Linked DNA regions of Homo sapiens: all the other regions are linked to region 3. Evidence: promoter capture Hi-C in 16 types of primary human blood cells and fetal thymus (Javierre and others, 2016). All regions are on one chromosome and are shown on one strand. Each heading gives the region's core, a stretch centred on a gene start or on the middle of the fragment in contact. The rest is flanking DNA. Distances are from core to core; before and after follow the strand shown. Region 1 holds the start of UBE2L6 (ubiquitin conjugating enzyme E2 L6). Region 2 holds the start of SMTNL1 (smoothelin like 1). Region 3 holds the start of SSRP1 (structure specific recognition protein 1).

Region 1 (2,700 bases), core at 188-2,687, 230 kb after region 3:
AGCCTGAGGAAGTTGAAACCCAACCTAAAACACACAGTTCTTTCCTACTGCCTACTAGGAAATCACCTGACTCAGAGGAACAGAAAATGAAAGTAGAAAGGCCATTAAGAGAGCCTGCAGGCTGGAGGCCTGTGGACCTGGTTTCATATTCCAGTCCCATTGCTCCTTACTGAAAGACTCTGGACAAGCAAGTTATTTCCTCTGTGCCTCAATTTCCTCATTTGTAAAATGCGGGTATATATTACTTATCTCACAGAACTGCTGTGCGAATTAGATGAAATAACCATGTAAACCGTTTGGCATGTAATGGTTCCAATGCAATAAATTCTGGCTCCCATCTCTCTTCCACTTGGCTGGAAAGACCCTCTGCCTCATTTTGCTGCCAACCTCCAGATTTAGTATCTAGGCCAAGCCTGCTCTGGGCATCCCAGTCTGAGGCCATTTTCTTCTCAGAGGCTGAGGGTAGCAGGCACCCTCTTCCTAGAGCCTGCCCCTCCACCCTGCAGACTGGAAGGGGCACTTCTGAAAGACTTGGGGTGCCAGACTCACTTCACCAGGATCACCTTCCTCCCTAATCCATCTCCAAACACCCTGGGTTTTCCCACCTTCTGGAGGAAACTGCCCCCTCCCCATCCTTCCAGATCTTATTTCAAATTGTGTCCCTGATAGGAACAAAATTCAACAAGGGCCGGATTTGTGTTCATCTCTGCCCGCCCCCCCCCCCCTCCTAGAACAGGGCCAGCACATGTAGGCATTCAACACTTGTAGAACTCACGAACGCAAGCCACCTACTCCAGGAGGCCTTCCAGGTCCACCTCCGCATCTTTTCCTCCAGAGAATACTCAGGGAACTTTGTCCCAAATTCTAATCAGCATTCCGTGTTTCTCAGGACTCTAGTAATACAGGCATCAAATTATGGGATGGGCTATGGGCTTATTCCAAGGCAAGGACTTCATCCTGGTCATCTGTGTTCATAACCCACCACCAGCAGTAGCAGAATGCCTGGCACCAAGATGCCAAGGACTTTTCCTGCACTGGAGATGCACCCAGTTGTTATCACAAGTTTCAGGCAGGAAAAGCGAAATTGAAACCAGTTTTGGGGGAGCCGGCTCATCTTCACCACGCGAACGGCTCAAGCAGAGGCCTCCAAACCCCCAAAACCCCAGCTCTGGCCACTCTTGCAGGCCAGTCCTCCTCTGAGTAGAGGGCGGGGAGGACAGGGATTCAGCCAGCCCTGGTGCCCAGACAAATAAATAAATGTGCTCGGAGAGCCGCGGAGGGGATGGAGGGAGGAGGGAATGCGGGAGGCGAGGGGAGCCAAGAGAAAGGGGTCATCCTATACGCGGTTACCTTCACCACTCGCATGCTCGCCATCATGTCGGGACCGAGTGTGTGGCACCCGTGGCCTCCAGCAGGACCGAGCTCCGACCCGCGACACAGCGCGCCCCGCCCCGCCCCGGGGACCCCACCCCCGGCAGCCCCGCCCACCCCTCCTCCAGCCGTCGCTGCGTGGGCCTCCCCGCACCCGCTCCGGCGAGGCCAGGAGGCCGTCGAAGGACGACCCGCCGGACAACCGCCCGATCCCCGCGCGGAAGGCTCGGACCCGGGACTCACGGTCTTTGTGCGGAGACGGGGGCGGGCCTCGGGGCGCACGGCTTTGCTGATCCCTGCCTCCCGCGGGGTGCGCCGTGCACCGGCGGCGAGCGCTCAGGGGCGCTGGGGGGCGCTCATACGGGTTCCAGTCTTCGCTCCGCCGGCGGCCGCACCGGGAGCTCTCCGGTCTTTGTCAGCCCCCTGCACGCCGCCCCAAATACACACTCGCCCTGAATAAATAAGGGATGCTCGCTGTACAGACGCAGCTCCGTGACAGTTCTCAGCGGCCTCCACTATCGGACTGCCGCCTTGAGCCCCTGCCCCAGCAAGCTGCCGGAGCCGCCGAGCCTGCCGCCTTCCCTCCATGGGCCCAGCGCTCCATCTCCGAAACTGCGTGGGGGATGGCGTAGACCTGTGCCCTCCGAGCACCGCTCCCCGGCAGTCGGGGATCCTTTGTGCTGCCCGGCGTTCGGCGCGGGCTGCAACGTTTCTCCCCGTGGCTTGGGGCAGAGCACCGCAAGGAGGCGCTGTTGGACCCTTTCTCTTTTGCTTTGGGGGTTCGGTCTACCATCATTCAGTCCTTTACTAGGTTTAGTATTTACTAAGTGCCTACTGTATGCTGGTTTGGGAAACAGTTGGTGGGGGAAGCCCCAAGAAGGACTCAGGAGCCTCCTTTCCAAGAGAGAGTCTGCTTCCCCTCCCTTACTTTACTACTGGTCCATTACAAGCTGTGGGCCTAATGTGTGCCCCCATGCACAGCTGGAGTCCCCAACCCTCTGTGCAAGGACAGAGTACTTGCAGCCCCTGAGCACCAAGCAGCATCTGGGGAAGATGAGACTTGTTGGGAGGGCCGATCCCCTCCTTCTCACCCTTCCCTACCCCCGTTTAGTCCAGACGAGAAAGGAAATCAGTATATTTTGAGCACCAGTTTGTGATCTCAGTACCTCACAGTTTTTTTGTTTCTTGTTTTTCTGACAGAGTTTCACTGTCGCCCTGACTGGAGTTCAGTGGCGATATCGGCTCACTGCAACCTCCGCCTCCCGGTTCAAGCTGTTCTCGTGCCTCAGCCTCCTGAGTAGCTGAGATTTACAGGCGCGCGCCACCACG
Region 2 (2,700 bases), core at 8-2,507, 200 kb after region 3:
TCTGAGGGAATGAAATTTCAGCTAAGTCCAGAAGAATGAGAGGGAGGCAGTCTTACAAAGAGTAGAAGGAAAAACCAGTCCTGAGTCTGAAAAGGGATGGATTTATTTAAGGAATAGGAAGGAGGCCAGTGTGGCCCAGTGGTGGGGCTTGGGGTAGGAGGACTGGGGGGGATCCCAAGCTTCGTGGGAGTGTCCTCTGCACCCATTCTCCAAAAGTAGTGCCTTTCTTAGATTGTAAAACACACAGAGAAAGTGAAGACTTTTTTTTGAGATGGAGTCTCTGTCACCCAAGCTGGAGTGCAGTGACTTGCTGCAACCTCTGCCTCCCAGGTTCAAGCAGTTCTCGTGCCTCAGCCTCCCAAGTAGCTGAGATTACAGGCATGCGCCACCAAGCCCGGCCAATTTTTGTATTTGTAGTAGAGACAGGGTTTCACCCTGTTGACCATGCTGTTCTTGAACTCCTGGCTTCAAGCAATCCACCCGCCTCGGCTGCCCAAAGTGCTGGGATTACAGGCATGAGCCACCATGCCCAGGCTTGTTTTGTTTTTTTCTTAGCAAAATGTCAGTTCAGTATAAAAATGTGTTCAGAGCCTACTGTGTACCTGTCACTTCAGCTCAAAATAGAACTCAGGAGTTTTGTATTTTCCAGGCTCCGTCCAGTGATCCGTCAGCTTGTCCCATCACTTTTGCCCTCTCTGCCCCTCCCCCTCCAAATCTCTCAGTCAACTGTGAGCCCCAAGACACATCCCCTGTGTTGGCAGCTGCCCTACTCGCCCCCTCCTTAGCCCAGCCTTAAGCAGCTGCTTTTGTCTGAGGACGAGGGAAAGGGGCTATGTAAGGAACGTGGCGGGGTGGGTGTGAAGGGAGCACAAGAGGCCTCGCCTGGGCTCTGGATGAGCAGTGGAGGCCAGGGCCATGCTCTAAATGAGTCCTGAAGATGGTTGTCAAGGTCCCTAGGGTTAGGAGAGTCCACTGGGGAGAAAGATGACCACAGGACGGATGCTGCCAGGCTCAGGGCGGAAGGGACGTGCCGTGATTGAAAGGTGCCACCTGTCAGATCTTCCACGGGAAATCCGAGCCTCCCAGTCTAGGGTAAAGTGTTGTACCAACAGGCCAGTAAACAATGCTCTTCAGGCAGCCCAAGACTCTTGAAGTGGGGGTGGGGTGGAAGAGGGAGAGGAAGGGGGGAGGCGGGACCAAAGAGCTGGGGGCTAGAGGCCACTGGGGCTTAAAGGCAGCCTGGGAGTGAGGCCACTCAGCTGGAGCAAAGAGACAGCTCCCAAGCCACAGGCAGAAGCCCCACAGGTAGGAGAAGCCCTGGCACCCTTTCTAAGGGTCCCTCCCCATCTGCCAATTCTCACTCCCACTGTCCAAGGGCCAGAGCCTCCCAGGAGGGCCCCCCATTTGGAGAAATCCAGGCTCCTTTCTAATTCTCTCCACCACAATGTCTACTCTCTTTAGATGCCTGGGGTCTCAGCCCTGCACCAGAGCACCTACAGAGCAGACTGCAAGTGGCCATCCACGAGGAGGCCACAGAGCAGGGGAGGGGACCTTGGGAGTCTCAAGAGTCAAACTGGGTTGGGGGGTAGACTGTCTAAGCCAAGCCTGTCCAGCCCACAGGCTACCTGTGGCCCAGGATGGCTTTGAATGTAGCCCAACATGAATTCATAAACTTTCTTAAAACATTATGAGATTTTTTTTTTTTTTGCAATTTTTGTTTTAGCTCATCCACTATCGTTAGTGTTAACGTATTTTACATGTGGCCCAAGACACTTCTACTTCTACCAGTGTGGCTCAAGGAAGCCAAAAGATTGGATACCCCTAGTCTAAGCAATTGAGGTCGGCCTCTCCAAGGGAGGGCCCCTGGCTGAGTGGGGAAGGTGGAAGCCTTAGGACAACCAGATGACAGATGAGGCTGCAGTGGGTGGCAGACGCACCACAGAACATCCAGTGTTTATACTACTGGGAGTTTGGATCTTGGGCTCCTGGGTCCCTTTCCTCCTGGTCTGCCAGAAGAAACAGGAAGAGAGAGGGAGGGGAGATATCTGCAGTGCTGCTTTGGACACAAAACAGGGATGGTTTGGAGACTTCCTGGGGAAGGAAGGAGGAAGGAAAGGAGAGAATAAGAAAGGAAGGTGGGGGCAGAGAAACTTTCATGAAGGGCCTACTGTGCACCTAGAAGAAAGAGGGAGGAACTCCTCGGCTGAATCTGACTGCCCTTCCCAACTGGTGGGGTGCCCCCACTCTGGGCCAGGGCCTTTGTAGGGACACTGGGCTGCGGAGCTAGTGGGAGCATATATTTGATGTGAGCTCTGGAGTGGAAGTTGGGATACTTGGATTCTAGATAGAGAGCCAGGCCACTTGTCCTATAACTTTAGTCAAGGGACTTCAACTCCCTGAGCCTGAAATCCCCATTGGCTCCCTAATGGGGCCAATAACCTATTCTGAAGGGTCGGAGCAAGAAATGACCAAGAGAAAGCAGGGCCTCCGCAGCATAAGCTGTAAACTGCTGTAGGGCTGTGAATGCTGGGGGTGGGTGGTGGCGTCCTGGTTTCTCAGCATTCTGAGCATCTTCACTCCTTTTCTATTTGTGACAAGCCTGGAGGGTGGAAAGCTGAGGTGATAAACACGCAGGATAGCCGAGGTGTGTGTCCGTGTGCGTGCACCTACCCTTCCCCTCCACCACCCTAAGTATGCAGC
Region 3 (2,700 bases), core at 5-2,504:
CGACCATCATTCTGTAAGAAAAGCAGGCCCAGATGCATGGAGACAGTACACAGCATGTCCTGGGTTCTACAGCTCTACCTAACACACATTCCTGCTGCAAGTGGACTGGCCAGATTATCAATGCAGGAGCAACAGCTGAGGGTGCCAAGGAGTCTAGATTCTAAACCAGACTCTGGTATCTAGAACCCTTAACAGATTCTCAGTTTCCTCATTTGTAAAACAGGAATTGGGAACTGAACAGCATATACGGTCCCTATAACTCTGAGACTATCTCTCAGTATTGCCTTGAGTTGGTGGAGACACTAGGTACACATTATACTGAGTCTTCTTTTTCCAAAATAACGTTACCAAAGCAAGCTCTCATTAATGGACAAAAACTCTACCCTCCTTCCTTCTCTCTACTTGTATCACCTGTCCAAGCCATTCTCACCATGGAACCTTTCACCTCCTGATAGACGTCGTTGAACTCCAGTGTCTCTGCCATGTCGACCCCTGCCTGTGGTGGCCTGGGCAGAGCCCCAGGCTGCACAAGGGAAACCAAGTAAACTGGGAGCTGGGCCCCAACTCCTGAGTGGGTGTGCGGATGCTCAGCAGGTTGGGAATCTGAATTCAAGAGGAAGACAGATAAGCATGAAAGACAGCACCTCGCTGTGCTCACGGATGGAGCCAGGTAGCAACTCCCAGCTGCGCCTGGATGTCTCAGGATTTCCTCTGCCTGGAAACCTACAGACGGACGCTGCAGTGCCCGAGGGTCCAGGTCCAGGCCTGGGTGGAGAACCGGGCCCGGAATACCGCTGACACCCAACCCGACGCCCGCTCTGGCCGCTCCGGCGGGAGCCATGGCAACGAGCAGCGGAACCCCAGGGTCTGCCAGGAGCCCGCACATCGCACGCGACCCAATCCAGCTCAGAGTGCAGGGTTTCCCTCGCACCGCTCCCACCACCCCGCGGCCCCAGACCCACGGTTCACCCCCGCCCCACATAATGGATTCGCCCGCTCCCCGCGGTTGCGAACGCGGAATGGTCCATGTCGAGGGTCCCGTGGGGGAGCGGGGCCCCTGCCTTCCTGGGACCGGGGACGACCACCACCTACCTCCTCAGGCTGCGGCCTCGCGAGGGCCCCGGCGCGAGAGGTGGGCGCGCTGGGGGGACGCGGGGGGGGCGCGGGGAGGGGGATGGGGGGACACCGGGGAAGCTTTTCCCGCGTGCGCGGCCCCGCGTCCCGCCACCGGAAGCCGTACACAGGCCACAGAGAGGATGAGCTGGCTAGAGAGACGCGAGTCGGGCCCGCCTGCGAGACAGTCGCATAGAGCGTCAGCGACTCTGGAGGACCTGAGGGAAGGGTGGTTGCCGTGAAGCCTCTCTCACCCAGGGGGAATCCGGCCTAGAAAATGTGTGTAGGGCTCTTTAGAAACTACAGACACTTCTTCAGTCGAGACTAGATACTAAAGAGAAATTGTGTAGTTTTATTGTATCAGACTTAGTACAGGGGTGGGGTGGGGGTGTGTATTGGAATGATGCGTGCCCGTTTCTCTGCAAAATAGTTTCTATGTCATGGAAAGGAGTCGATGGGACAAGAAGAGAAGTATTTGAACAGTTGTGGGAGGAAACGACCTCTCCCACTGGCTGCGGAGAGTATGCGGGTGTTGGTGTCATCGTGGGTGCACTGCTTTCTGGCTGAACTGTCAAGTTCACTGTCTACACCCAAAATTTTCACATCCTTAACCGAAAATTATAGGTACCTCCAAGAGGCTGGCAAACGGCCTTATCCAGTTCAAGTCCTGGTGTCAGATTCACCTTGGAGCCAGAACTGATTTGAAACCACATCATCCTGTGGTTGCGGAAGCCAGGTCTCCCCCGTATAATCCCAGAGTGCATTTTGCAACATCAGAGACCAGACCTGGAAAAGATGTTTTAGTTTTTCTACCCCAACCTCCTTTTACTGATGGGAAAACTGAGACCCAAAGGGGAGTGAGTTGCCCAGGGTCTCAGTGCGTTGGCAACAAGGCTAGGTAGGACCCAGACCTCCTTAACACCACCAGTCCAGTTATCTTCTGTCATAATCACAGTGACTGTATGTTCAGAATGACTATTGATATGTGTCCTACATGAAGACATTAGTACAGAATATGTAAGCTCAAGATTTCCCTGACAATCAATACACCAGCTTGCTAAATCAATCCTGGGGTAAGAGACAACAGGAATGCACCCTTCTCCCCTGAACTCATAGCTTTAACCTCTGAGTAGTGGCTATTCCAGCATTATCTAGCAAAATAAATTCAACTGGGTTTAATAAATAGATATTGAGGGCCTATTACTACTTTAGCACACTTCTCAGATTTGAGGAAACTTGAACAAGGTGAAAACATCCCCGGCCAGGCACGGTGGCTCACACCTGTAATCCTAGCACTTGGGGAGGCCAAGGCAGGGAGATCACTTGAGGTCAGGAGTTTGAGACCAGACTGGCCAACGTGGTGAAGCCCCGTCTCTATTAAAAATACAAAAATTAGCCAGGCGTGGTGGCGGGTGCCTATAATCCCAGCTACTCAGGAGGCTGAGGCATGAGAATTGCTTGAACCCAGGAGGCAGAGGTTGCAGTGAGCTGAGATTGTGCCACTGCACTCCAGCCCGGGTGACAGAGCGAGACTCTGTCAAAAAAAAAAAAAAAAAGAAAGAAAGAAAAAGAAAAAAAAAAGGAAGG

Evidence for each region. The method cuts DNA at HindIII sites, captures the fragments that hold promoters and counts their contacts. A CHiCAGO score of 5 or more calls a contact.
Region 1: the fragment with the promoter of UBE2L6 here is called in contact with the fragment with the promoter of SSRP1 in region 3 in 8 of 17 cell types (M1 macrophages, M0 macrophages, activated CD4 T cells and 5 more); the score reaches 11.4 in M1 macrophages.
Region 2: the fragment with the promoter of SMTNL1 here is called in contact with the fragment with the promoter of SSRP1 in region 3 in 12 of 17 cell types (M0 macrophages, erythroblasts, activated CD4 T cells and 9 more); the score reaches 11.7 in M0 macrophages.

What each region holds. Positions count from the first base shown.
Region 1 is chr11:57,566,235-57,568,934 of GRCh38, forward strand. UBE2L6 (ubiquitin conjugating enzyme E2 L6) reads right to left here and starts at 1,438. Exons shown (of 4, transcript NM_004223.5): 1 at 1,351-1,438. The coding sequence starts at 1,377. RefSeq lists an enhancer at 1-188 and a silencer at 1,442-1,801. The HindIII fragment of the contact is 19,025 bases long and covers 1-2,700 here.
Region 2 is chr11:57,536,338-57,539,037 of GRCh38, forward strand. It overlaps SMTNL1 (smoothelin like 1), which reads left to right and starts at 1,258. Exons shown (of 8, transcript NM_001105565.3): 1 at 1,258-1,305. The HindIII fragment of the contact is 14,036 bases long and covers 178-2,700 here.
Region 3 is chr11:57,334,638-57,337,337 of GRCh38, forward strand. SSRP1 (structure specific recognition protein 1) reads right to left here and starts at 1,255. Exons shown (of 17, transcript NM_003146.3): 1 at 1,093-1,255; 2 at 431-603; 3 at 1-11. The coding sequence starts at 484. It also overlaps a transcript of P2RX3 not described here. RefSeq lists enhancers at 424-493, 1,344-1,393 and a silencer at 994-1,173. The HindIII fragment of the contact is 4,158 bases long and covers 1,193-2,700 here.